Regions from separate parts of the Homo sapiens genome. Here all the other regions are linked to region 3. Evidence: promoter capture Hi-C in 16 types of primary human blood cells and fetal thymus (Javierre and others, 2016). All regions are on one chromosome and are shown on one strand. Each heading gives the region's core, a stretch centred on a gene start or on the middle of the fragment in contact. The rest is flanking DNA. Distances are from core to core; before and after follow the strand shown.

Region 1 (3,168 bases), core at 402-2,901, 270 kb before region 3:
TTTCTCCGCTCTTCTCCAATATCCATACACTAAAAGCATGTTCATTCAGTTACCCTGCCTCCAAAGACTCAGGGTCAACTCTGAATCCTCCCTCTCTCTGCACCTTCAGGCACAAAATTATATTGCTGGTTCACTCACTCTTTCAACAATGATTTCATACCTACTCAGTGCCAGGTAGGCAGGGAATACGAAAACTTTTAAAAGCTTTCCTCTGACTGACAGTGTCAGTCTCGGGGAGGTCGTGGGGCGGAGTGACAACACCAGACTTGCTTCTACAACTCCCTTTCCAATCCAATAACCCCACTACACAGAACCAACAGAGCTGATCTCACTGATTCAGTCTTTTCCCATTCCCATCTAGTTCCCACATCTCCAGCATATTAATCTTCCAGGGTCACTTTGATCAGGTAAGCCTACTACCCCAAAATCTGGTATCCCCGCCTCTACCAGGCCGCCCCACCGTCTGGGAAGAGAGGAGCACCTCTGCCCGGCAGCCCCACCGTCTGGGAAGAGAGGAGCACCTCTGCCCGGCCCCCCAACCACCTGGGAAGTGAGAAGCACCTCTGCCCGGCCGCCCCACTGTCTGGGAAGAGAGGAGCGCCTCTGCCCGGCCCCCCAACCGTCTGGGAAGTGAGGAGTGCCTCTACCCAGCTACCGCCCTGTCGGGGAAGTGAGGAGCGCCTCTGCCGGCCACTCCACCGTCTGGGAAGTGAGGAGCGCCTCTGCCCAGCTGCCGCCCCGTCGGGGAAGTGAGGACCACCTCTGTTGGTCACCCTACCGTCTGGGAAGTGAGGAGTGCCTCTGCCGGCCACCTCACAAGCTGGGAAGTGAGGAGCGCCTCTGCCCGGCGGCCCACCATCTGGGAAGTGAGGAGCGTCTCCGCCCGGCCGCCGGCGGCCCACCACCTGGGAAGTGAGGAGCGTCTCCGCCCGGCCGCCGCCCTGTCTGGGAAGTGAGGAGCGCCTCTGTACGGCCACCGACCATCTGGGAAGTGAGGATCGCCTCTGTCCGGCTGCCGCCCTATCTGGGAAGCAAGGAGTACCTCTGCCTGGCTGCCCCACTGTCTGGGAAGTGAGGAGTGCTTCTGCCTGGCCCCCCCGCCAACTATCTGGGGAGTGAGGAGCGCCTCTGGCCGGCCCCCACACCCTCTGGGATGTGATGAGCGCCTCTGCCTGGCCGCAGCCCCGTCTGGGAAGTGAGGAGCGCCTCTGGCTGCTGTGCAACCCTCCAAGTGTGAAGTGACAGCCTTGTGTGTGATCTTTCTGCCCTCTCCAAAGTTTGCATTTTTGACATTAAAGTTTACTTTTTAATTAAAAGTTTTAAATTGGAGAATTAAAAAAAAAAACTGGTACCCTCTAGCTTGGCATTCAGGTCCCTACACGACATGGACCTCTTAGGCTGCAAGTGGCCCAAGCCTCGTCTGGACTATCCTCCCTGTCTTTAAGTAAATTCAGTTGCCAAGACCCAAATACATCCTGTACTTTGTCACCTGGAGGACTTTCCTACTGCCTTCCCTACTGCCAGAAATGTTCTATTTGCAAGAACCACCCAACCAAAAGACCCAGTACTCAATCTCTCTCTCCATGAAACTGTCCCAGATCACCCAGGCCAAAAGTCACCTGTTCCACCTTGCACATCTTATTGCACACTCTTTTTTATTTGATTTTAGCACCTACTTCTGTACAACATAGTATGTATCACATGCTGCCTTAAATGATAATGTATATATAGGCTGAGTCTCCCTTATCCAAAATGCTTGGTACCAGAAGTGTTTTGGATTTCAATTTTTTTTGGATTTTGGAAGATTTGTTTAAACTTGGGGATGGGGCTCCAGTTTAAACATAAAATTCATTTCTGTTTCACATTCACCTTATACACATAACCTGAAAGTAATTTTATACATTAGTTTTATTTTGTGCATGAAACAAATGTGTGTACAGTGAACCATCAGAAAGCAAAAGTGTCAGGTGTGCAATTTTCCACTTGTGGCATCATGTTGGCATTCAAAAGGTTTCAGATTTTGGGTGCTGAAGTGTGTGTGTTGAGGGGGCAAACATTTTTAAAAGGTTTCAGATTTTGGAGCATTTCTGATTTCAGATTTTCAGATCAGGGATGCTCAGCCCCATACTTCTCATTTTCACAATTACAATTTAGTGCTCCACAAATCAGAGGCCATGTCTTATATATCTTTGTAATATCTACATAATGTAATATGGTTCTCAGTAGATGCTTAATATTTTCTTAGAGAATTAGTGAAGACAGTGAGCAGAATGCCGATTCTCAGACCCATATTAAAAGTTAATCACATGCACCTGAAAAATAACATTCAGTTCCTGCCTACTCAGTAAGTATCAAAAGTTTCATTCCTTTGTCTCATAAAGTTGACTTTTAGAAATAAGGAAATGCCCCCCACAGGCAAACAAAATATTATGTATGAGTTTTTTAAAAAATTAAAAGAAAAAACCTAAAGAACCAAAATCTAAATCTAAGCACTCAATTAATGCTAGTATAATTAGTACTGTCATGATTAAATAAATTGTGGAATTGATGTACCTTGTATTACCTGTGGTAATTAATAATCATGTTTTAGAAGATTGTTTAGAGGCAACACTTTTATAATAAGACAAAAAAATTATAAAGTCATATTTAAAGCATGGTCCCAATTATGAAAGAAATATACATCCACAGGTATATATGTAAACACAGATAACATATCTGAGAGAAAATGAAACAATAAATAAGTGGATGAATAAATACCTGCATTATGGGCCAGGTGCAGTGGCTCATGCCTGTAATCCCAGCACTTTGGGAGGCCGAGGCGGGGGGATCACAAGGCCAGGAGTTCGAGACCAGCCTGACCAACATGACGAAACCCCGTCTACTAAAAATACAAAAATTAGCTGGGCATGGTGGTGGGCGTCTGTAATCTCAGCTACTCATGAGGCTGAGGCAGGAGAATCATTTAAACCCGGGAGGCAGAGGCTGCAGTGAGCTGAGATCGTGCCGTTGCACTCCAGCCTGGGCGACAGGGTGAGACTCCATCTCAAAACAAAACAAAACAATCTGCATTTTGGTAAATCCCCACCATAGAAGCTTGATTAATGTGTCTGACTCAGAGACATATTAATATATTATCAAATTTTCTTTAAGTTATACATTGTATATAAT
Region 2 (2,864 bases), core at 15-2,514, 290 kb before region 3:
TAAGTTTCATACGCTGAATATTGATTCAACGTCATTATTCTAAGCACTGTTATCCATTTACAGTCACCCCTAGGTCATCTGCAGGTGACTGGTATTTGGACAAACACCAAAATCTGTGCATGCTCAAGTCTCCCCATCGGAGCTGTAGAACCCACAGATACAGAAAAAGGCAGTTCTTGGTCACGCAGGTTTTGCATCCCGAAATATTGCGTTTTCGATCCATGTTCAATTGAAAACAATCCACATATAAGTGGACTAATGTGGCTCAGACCCAAGGTGTTCAGGGTCAGCTGTGTAGTACTAAGGGTACACAGAGTGTAGTATGGTTGACTCTCTACTGGTCATGAGTATATCACAGCAGCAGTTTGTTTGTTTGTTTTTTACCTTTTGGATTTTATTTTCACTAAGTTAATCATAATAATAACAACAATTATAATTACTGAGCTCTTAAATGTACTGTCTCCCATAGTTTTCACAACAACCTTATGAGAAAAGTACTGCTGTTATTTTTCCCATTTTGAGGAAATGAAGAAGCCGGCCATGCAAGTTTAAGTAACTTGCCCTAAGTCAGTGTCTCAAGCTCAGCACTACTGGACAACTGGGCCCGGTAATTCTTTACTGGAGGGGTAGAGGGGCTGTCCTGTGTACCACAGGACAGTTAGCAGGAGTCATGTCTTTACCCACAAGATGCCAATAGCAGCCCCCATCCAGTGGTGATAACTAAAATGTCTCCAGACCTTGCCAAATGTGCCCTGGGGGCAAAATCAATGGAGAAGCACTGTTCTAAGTGATGCTGGAGATGAGAGTCAAGAAGCCAGGGTTCTGGCTGAGGTCTTACCACTGCAAAGGCGCCACGGCCCCCTCCCAAGAGAAGGCATCAAGCCCCCTTTGCATGCTCCAAGCAAAGGAGCCGGCAGGAGCTCTTGCCTCTGTCGCACACACAGTCTGTCAGCACTGCAGACAGGCCTGAAGCTTGACAAATATCAAAGTGAGACAAAGCTGTACCAAGTGCCAGCAATTTCAGACACAGAGTAATCCTTCAGTACAAGTAATGCCCTGTGTAACTTTCTTCCTATCCTAACGGTTCCAGTTGCACATATGAAAGATTCTCAATCTCCTCACTTAAAAACGAATCACAGAAAAAGCCTTCGCCTACAACGGCATATCTAACACATTAGACACCCAGGAAGGAATATTTTTTAACACACCCTCCATGTATGAAAAAAATTATTTTCAGTAATAGTTATGTAAAAATCAGTAACTATTATTTTCTTGATTTGTTCTTTAGTTTTAAAACAACTGTCTTAAATGTGATAAGTTTTAATTTTACAGATATTATTTTTGCACTTACCAAGCAAAAATATTACACCTCATGGTTTGCATTCTGTTTCACTGTTGTAATTTTTAAGGACTCTTGGACAAAAACTCCAAGTGATCAAACAGAGTGACAATTATAGTCATCAGTAACACTATCATTTATTTCAAATCTACTGTTTAAAAACAGATATACGTAATACTACAGAGTTAAATACACAAGACTGTCCTAAGCAAGCTTTCTGAACAATTCTAAAGTCTTAAGAAGTTACTCTGGAAATGAATGCAAGCAGCTGAATCCCCATGTGTTTAGGGCTAATCTGACACCAGGAGTGTCAGATTTAACCTCCATGTTGCATACAGTATTTCTTTTTTTTTTTTTTTTTGAGACGGAGTCTCACTCTGTCACCCAGGCTGGAGTGCAATGGCACAATCTCAGCTCACCGCAACCTCCACCTCCCGGGTTCAAGCAATTCTCCTGTCCCAGCCCACCCCCTCCAGTAGCTGGGATTACAGGCACGTGCCACCACATCCAGATAATTTTTTGTATTTTTAGTAGAGACGGGGTTTCACCATGTTGGCCCGGCTGGTCTCAAATTCCTGACCTCAGGTGATCCACCCGCCTCGGCCTCCCAAAGTGCTGGGATTACAGGCATGAGCCATGGCGCTCGGCCTACAGTATCTATTAAAGGCTAAGTACTCAAGAAGTACTCACTTGAAGCTTACGTATCTATTATTAAAACTCAATAAAGCAATTATTTAGAACACCAACAAAAGATTTTGGGGGAAAGAATATCACCGACATTGTTTAGAACTGCAGGCAAAATTCTAGACATTTAGACTTTACAGGCAGACTTCTGGATGCTTTTATTACTGTTATTAAATCCTCCACAGACAATGCACCCCTCATCACCAGCACTGGAGCAGACCACTCCCACCACCCCAGCCTTGGGATGCCGCTGTCTGCCTATCAGAGTTAAAATGGTACTCGGACGCTTCAAGCCCAGAAAGTCAGTTGCAAAAGAATCAAAAGAATAAAGGAAAGAGAAAAGCCACAGAAAATCACAATAAAAGAAACAACGAAGGAGTGAGATCTCTTGGTTCCACTTCTAGCCTGACCTCAGCTGACCGTGTATGTCAGGCAAACTTTAAAACTTCTCCAGGCAGTGCAGCAGAGAGGGTGAAGTCACAGGCGGCTGGCTGCGGACTGGGAGACCCCAGGCAAGGTTCTTAATCTCTCTGGGCCTGTCAGTTTTCTCATCTTCAAGAGAGGAAATATATTTGTATCTAACCCCAAAAGGCTATTGGGAGGTGATAAAAGTAAAGCATGTGAAGTGCTCTATATGTGATAGTTGTACCTGGGCAATATCTTAAAATTACTAAATCTGGGTGAAATATAGAGACTCATCGTACTATTATCTTTAATTCTGTATAGTTTTGAAACTTTCTGAAATAAATGTTTGAAGTTAGTTATTATCAGGTTCCTTAAATACAACACGTAAGAGAAATAATCACCTCCAAGGTCTCTTTGGGCTTTAAAACTCTCTGAT
Region 3 (3,192 bases), core at 413-2,912:
CCTGCACTCCAGCCTCAGCGACAGAGGGAGACCCTGTGTCAAAAACAAAAACAAAACAAAACAAAAAGCAGGGGGGGCCTGACACGGTGGCTCAGGCCTGTAATCCTAGCACTTTGGGAGGCTGAGGTGGGTGGATTGCCTGAGCTCAGGAGTTCAAGACCAGCCTGGGCAATGTGGTGACATGGTGAAACCCTGTCTCTACAAAATACAAAAAATTAGCCGGGTGTGGTGGCGGGCTTCTGTAATACCAGCTACTCGGGAAGCTGAGACAGGAGAATCACTTGAACCCGGGAGGTGCAGGTTGCAGTGAGCTGAGATTGTGCCGCCACTGCATTCCAGCCTGGGTGACAGAGCAAGACTCTGTATCCAAAAAAAAAAAGGACCAGACATATTGCATTGTTAACAAACTAGTTGTTAACCTTATGACCTCTGTAAAGGTCTCAGGGATTTCCAGAGGTCTGGGGACCACACTTTGAGAATCACTAGATTAAAAGGGGGAAAACATGGGAGGAAAAAAAGGTCACATAATGGAAACATACTGTTGGATTGAATTTCGTATATAAAAACCCTTTACTGAAATAAAGAGTAGAGACTTCAAGTACCAAGAGAAGCAGATTAGAAGAGGAGGAAGGCTCTAGGGACTGATCAGGTCTGGAGGCAGGGTTTTAAATGGGCCTTGAAGGGTTCGTGCAGTTTGGAAGGAAGGGATGGGAGGGAAAAGCTTGCTGAATCGTATAAATGAACAAGACCCTGATGGTGAGCTCTTGAGGATATGAAAGGCAAAAAGCACTAAGGCCGGGCTTTTGTTCCTCTGTGGCCCTGCATATATGAGGAGGTGATGAGTAATTCTATATTTTTATCAGCTTTACCGTTTAAAACTCCAAGGGAGGAAAACCCTTCAAACTGATAGGCTTGGGGCTTGGTGAAGGTGGGGTATTAGTGAAAAAGATGTGAAGTTTCTTTATCGAAAATACATGTATGTCCAAGAAATTCTCTGTAGATAAAAACTAACAAGAAAAAGAGTTTGTCAGAGAGGAAAAGTAGTTTTGCTAATTTATTTTTGATCATTTGCAAAGCCCATGGAAGTGTGTGGCAAGAGGATTGTGGTGTCTTAGGATATTCACATAGGTCTGAAACAAGGAAAACATACTTCTGTTGAAAGCACCATTCCAACATATTGTTATTAGCAGTCCCTGAACTAACGGGTAGTGGGTGGGTACTGTGTCCATCAGCTCAGCGAACCGCAATTGCCTCATTGACAGCAAGCCCAGCAAGGAATCACTTGGAATATTAATTTCCGTGGCCTTTCGCAATCACACGAAGCTTGGCTCCCTGCGCTTGCCGTAACGCGGCCTGTACCATTGCTTTCCGGGTGGCGGGGGGGATTTGGCAGCAGCGGAAGAAGGAGACCGGAGGGTGTGTGTTGGGCAAAGCCGGAGGCAGAGGAGGACGATTGTTTTACGGATCCCGTGATCGGCCCGTCCTTCTCCCCTTTCCCCCCCTCCCTACCGCCCCTGTCCCGCCGGGGAGCGGCGGCGGCCTTGGACTTTGCTGTCTTTCCTCGCGGAGACAGGTGAGTGTCGGCGCGCGGGCTCCCCGGGCTTCGCTCCCCACCCCCCGCGTCTCCGGGGCCGGTGGCGGCGGCCGGCCGGGGAGGCGGCCTCGGCGCACAGTAATGGCAGCGCTGTGAGCAGGGGAACGCGAGCTGACAGCCGCCGCCGCCGCCGCCTCCGCCCACCTTCCTCGCCGGGGCTTCGTCTTTCACTCCTTCGGGCTGCCTCCCCCTCCCCTTGTCCCCTGCCCCTTGCCCTGCTTCTGCAGAAGGTAACCCCGCTGAGGGTCGGGGAGCCGGGCTGCAGGCGCCGGGAAACTTCCCTTCCCGGTTAATGGGTGGCGGGGCTGGGGCGGAGGAGAGGAGTTGGGGGCGACGAGGTGTGGGGAGAGGGATGAAAGGGGGAGGCCCGGGAAGATGGTATCCTGTAAGTGACCTCGGCTCCCCAGAGCGCTGACCCGTAAGCCCTGCCACCCCCTGGACTGGATCCCGGGCCTCCCCAACCCGATCTTGGCCGCCTCTCCCGCGGCCCCATTTTCCTTCGAAGGAGGGAAGGTGAGAGTGCGTGTATTCTTCTACATATTTACGTGCTCACACGAATACACAACTCTGTGTGTTTGTGTGTGTGTGTGGGGGGGGGCATCTCATGCATCCTTACCCCGAGTGTTTTCACTTTTGTTTCCGCAGACTGCAAAGATTGATAGCTTTGGGGAGGAGTATCCTACGTGCATGCTAGACTTCTTGTCTCAACCCTTAGGGTCTGGTGAAATAAGATCCTCACACGCTTTCTAGCACTTGCTTACCCTCTAGAGAGTCTGGACCATTCCCTACCATTACGTGCATGCAAATAAAACATCTGTGAATTGCAGACTGTTATTAATGTTAAGTCCACATCTTTGCCCCATGGATTAATATTAACAGTTGAAGGCCAGTACCCTGGGCGTTTAAATTTTGAAGATAAGATGCAAAATATTAACGTTCGCTATAGATTGTGACTGTTCAACATAAACGTCTTTGAACTAGACCTGGCCAAGCCTACCTTCGTAGTAAAGTATCGGAAATAATCACTTTGATCTGATTGACAACTGACTACATAATAATCGCTTAAAAACATTCAAAACACTGTTGCCTACCCTTTAGAATCTTACATTCCTTTTCAAGACAGACACATGAACAAATGAGCTATACTTTGCTTCTTTTGCCCTTATACAGTATCTGGAAGATCCTTCCAAAAGAGTCGCGTGAGATAAGAGAAGTACACAGTTTTTTTGTTTTGAGATGGAGTTTTGCTCTTGTCACCCAGGCTGGAGTGCAGTGGTGCGATCTCGGCTCACTGCAACCTCCGCCTCCCGGGTTCAAGCAATTCTTCTGCCTTAGCCTTCCATGTAGCTGGGATTACTGGCATGCGCCACCATGCCCGGCTAATTTTGTATTTTTAGTGGAGATGGGGTTTCACCATGTTGGCCAGGCTGGTCTTGAACTCCTGACCTCAGGTGATTCGCCTGCTTAGGCCTCCCAAAGTGCTGGGATTACAGGCCTGAGCTACTGCGCCCAGCCCACAGTGTTTTGAATTACTTGTTTTTTTCAATTGCTGTTTATGAGTTGGGGGAACATTTCTACAATGTGCATGCACATAGCGT
Region 4 (2,918 bases), core at 334-2,833, 270 kb after region 3:
TGTGAGCCACCTCACCTGGCCTAGATCCCCATCTTGATAGATAGATAGATAGATAGATAGATAGATAGATAGATAGATAGATAGATAGATGAAAGAAAGGCTGGACGCAGTGGCTCACACCTGTAATTCCAGCACTTTGGGAGGCTGAGGCAGGAGGACCACTTTACAACCAGCCAGGACAACATAGGAAGACCCTATCTCTACAAAAAAATTAAAAAAAAAAAAATCCATGCATGGTGGAACACACCTGAAGTCCTAGCTATTTTGGAGGCTGAGGCAGGAGGATTGCTTGAAGCTAGGAGTTCGAGGCTGCAGTGAGCTATGATTGTGACACTGCACTCTAGCTTGGGGTACAGAGCAAGATACTGCCTCCAAAAACAACAATAACAACAACAACAACGAAAGATTTCTGTGGGTTCTGGATCTACCACTGCAGATCTACTGCCTGGTGTTCCATCCAAGTAAACCTCCCCAGCTGGAACAAGCATGGTGCCTCTGCCACGACACTGAGCGAATGAAATTCCAAAGCACCATAGAGAGTTTTTGAAATTGAACTCCCGGCTTAATAGGGTAACTTGACAGAGTGGGGAGGGATGAGTCAGCCATTTAAAATCAGGTACAGGGGATTACTGGGGCTGGATGTGCACTGGTACAGCATACCAGAATTATTACACAGAATGTCAGGGGCCCGGGGCCCTGGGCCTCATCTGAAGCAGCCTCAAAGCCACTCGCCTCCTCTGACACCCGTAGGTCTGGTTCTGGAGAACCTATTGGGAAGAGGACTTTCCTGCTCCAGGTAGGTTGGAGGCAGTGCTGGAGAGGCTTGAGGCTGGAAACCCAGATAGGGCCATCCTTCCTGCCTGCCTTCCTTCCTTCCTCCCTCCCTCACTTCTTTTTCTTTTCTTTCTTTTCTTTCCTCCCTCCCTCCCTTCCTCCCTCCCTTCTTTTTCTTTCCTTCCTTCCTTTTCCCTCCTTCCTTCCTCCCTCCCTCTCCCTCCCTCCCTTCCTCCCTCCCCTTTTCTTTCCTTATTTTTCTTTCTCTTTATTTTCCTCCCCTTCTTTCCTTTGCTTTCTTTTCCTTTCCTTTCTTCTCCTCCCTCCCCTCCCTCCCTCCTTCCTTCCTTTCTTTTCTTTTTCCTTCCTTCCTTTTCTCTCTCCTTCTTCCTTCCTCTTTATCTCTTCTTTCTTTCTCTTTTTCTTTCTTTCTTTTTCTTTCTTTCTTTCTCCTTCCTTCCCTTTTCTCTCTCTCTCCTTCCTTCCTCTTTCTCTCTTCTTTCTTTCTTTCTCTTTCTTTCCTTCTCTCTCCTTTCCTCTCTTTCTTTCTTTCTTTTCTCTCTTTCTTCCTTTCTTTCAGATGGGTCTCACTCTGTTGCCCAGGCTACACTGCAGTGTGCCATCATAACTCACTGCAGCCTTGAACTCCTGGGCTCAAATGATCCTCCTGCCTCAGCTTCTTCAGTAGCTGGGATTATAGGCTCCAGCTGTTTCTCCTACCCATCCAGATTCTTTCAGGATTTGAGAATTTGAGCCATTTAATTTTTTTTTTTTTTGAGACAGAGTCTCGCTCTGTCGCCCAGGCTGGAGTGCAATGGTGCAATCTCGGCTCACTGCAACCTCCGCCTCCTGGGTTCAAGGGATTCTCCCTGCCTTAGCCTCCCAAGTAGCTGGGATTACAGGCGCCTGTCACCACGCCTGGCTACTTTTTGTGTTTTTAGTAGAGACAGGGTTTTGCCATGTTGGCCAGGCTGGTCTCGAACTCCTGACCTCAGGTGATCCGCCTGCCTCGGCCTCCCAAAGTGTTGGGATTATAGGCATGAATCACCACGCCCAGGCATTCTCAAAGTTTTTTAAAGGAGAGAGAGAGAGAGGGAGAGAGAGAAAGAGAAAAAAAAAACTTTTGGTACTTTTTTTTTTTTTTTTTGTCTTTTTATAGAGATAGGGTCTCACTCTCTCTCCCAGGCTGGAGTCCAACAGTGCAATCATAGCTCACTGCAGCCTCCAACTCCTGGGCTCAAGCAATTCTCCCACCTTGGCCTTCCAGGTAGCTGGTACTACAGGCATGCACCACCATGCTTGGCCAAATTTTTAACTTTCTGTAGGTCTTGAACTTCTGGGCTCAAGTGATCCTCCCACCTCTGCCTCCCATGTAGCTGCAATTACAGGTGTAAGCCACCACATCCAATTAACTTTCAGTACCTTATGTTCCTGATAAAGCCATGCCTGCCTCAGAGGGAAGGCAGGATGGACTTTTACCCACCAGAGAATCCTGGTTCAAATGCTGAAATTCCCCCAAATAGCAGCAATCTTACTACCTGCACCTTTGGCTTCCCCCAGCAACCTAGAAGGCCAGCACTCTAAGCCTCACCGAAGAACTTGACTCTGAACTTCCCTCTCAAAGATTAGGCTGAAATAACTGGCATTTATATTTTATTTTATTTATTTATCTTGAGACGGAGTTTCACTCTTATTGCCCAGGCTGGAGTGCAATGGTGCCATCTCAGCTCACTGCAACCTCCGCCTCCTGGGTTCAACTAATTCTCCTGCCTCAGCCTCACCAGTAGCTGGGATTACAGGTGTCTGCCACAACACCCAGCTAATTTTTTATATTTTTAGTAGAGACGAGGTTTCACCATGTTGGCCAGGCTAGTCTTGAACTCCCGACCTCAGGTGATCCACCTGCCTTGGCCTCCCAAAGTGCTGGGATTATAGGCGTGAGCCACTGTGCCCGGCCCTATTTTATTTTTTGAGATAGTGTGTCACTCTGTCGTCCAGATTGGAGTGAAGGGACATGATCATGGCTCACTGCAGCCTCAAACTCCTGGGTTCAAGTGATCCTTCAGCCTCATAGCTGGAACCACAGGTGTTTGCCACTACACCCAGCTAATTTTTAACTTTCGTATAGATAGAGTCTCACTATG

What was found. Contacts are between HindIII fragments. The CHiCAGO score rates a contact against its expected background, and 5 or more counts as called.
Region 1: a fragment that was not itself captured here is called in contact with the fragment with the promoter of CUL2 in region 3 in 8 of 17 cell types (activated CD4 T cells, total CD8 T cells, naive CD8 T cells and 5 more); the score reaches 9.4 in activated CD4 T cells.
Region 2: a contact is called between a fragment that was not itself captured here and the fragment with the promoter of CUL2 in region 3, in 8 of 17 cell types (naive CD4 T cells, activated CD4 T cells, total B cells and 5 more). The highest score is 11.3, in naive CD4 T cells.
Region 4: a fragment that was not itself captured here is called in contact with the fragment with the promoter of CUL2 in region 3 in 1 of 17 cell types (fetal thymus); the score reaches 5.0 in fetal thymus.

The regions. Positions count from the first base shown.
Region 1 is chr10:35,360,756-35,363,923 of GRCh38, reverse strand. All of the region lies in intron 1 of CCNY (cyclin Y), which reads right to left. Among named protein-coding and RNA genes, the nearest start is that of CCNY, 26 kb to the right of the region's middle. The HindIII fragment of the contact is 2,889 bases long and covers 207-3,095 here.
Region 2 is chr10:35,380,402-35,383,265 of GRCh38, reverse strand. The region is part of intron 1 of CCNY (cyclin Y); the gene reads right to left. Among named protein-coding and RNA genes, the nearest start is that of CCNY, 45 kb to the right of the region's middle. The HindIII fragment of the contact is 580 bases long and covers 975-1,554 here.
Region 3 is chr10:35,088,811-35,092,002 of GRCh38, reverse strand. It overlaps CUL2 (cullin 2), which reads left to right and starts at 1,662. Exons shown (of 21, transcript NM_003591.4): 1 at 1,662-1,824. RefSeq lists an enhancer at 1,242-1,381 and silencers at 1,300-1,488, 1,542-1,741, 1,762-1,891. The HindIII fragment of the contact is 6,346 bases long and covers 1,326-3,192 here.
Region 4 is chr10:34,820,097-34,823,014 of GRCh38, reverse strand. No RefSeq gene overlaps it. Among named protein-coding and RNA genes, the nearest start is that of PARD3-DT, 5.8 kb to the right of the region's middle. The HindIII fragment of the contact is 5,325 bases long and covers 1-2,918 here.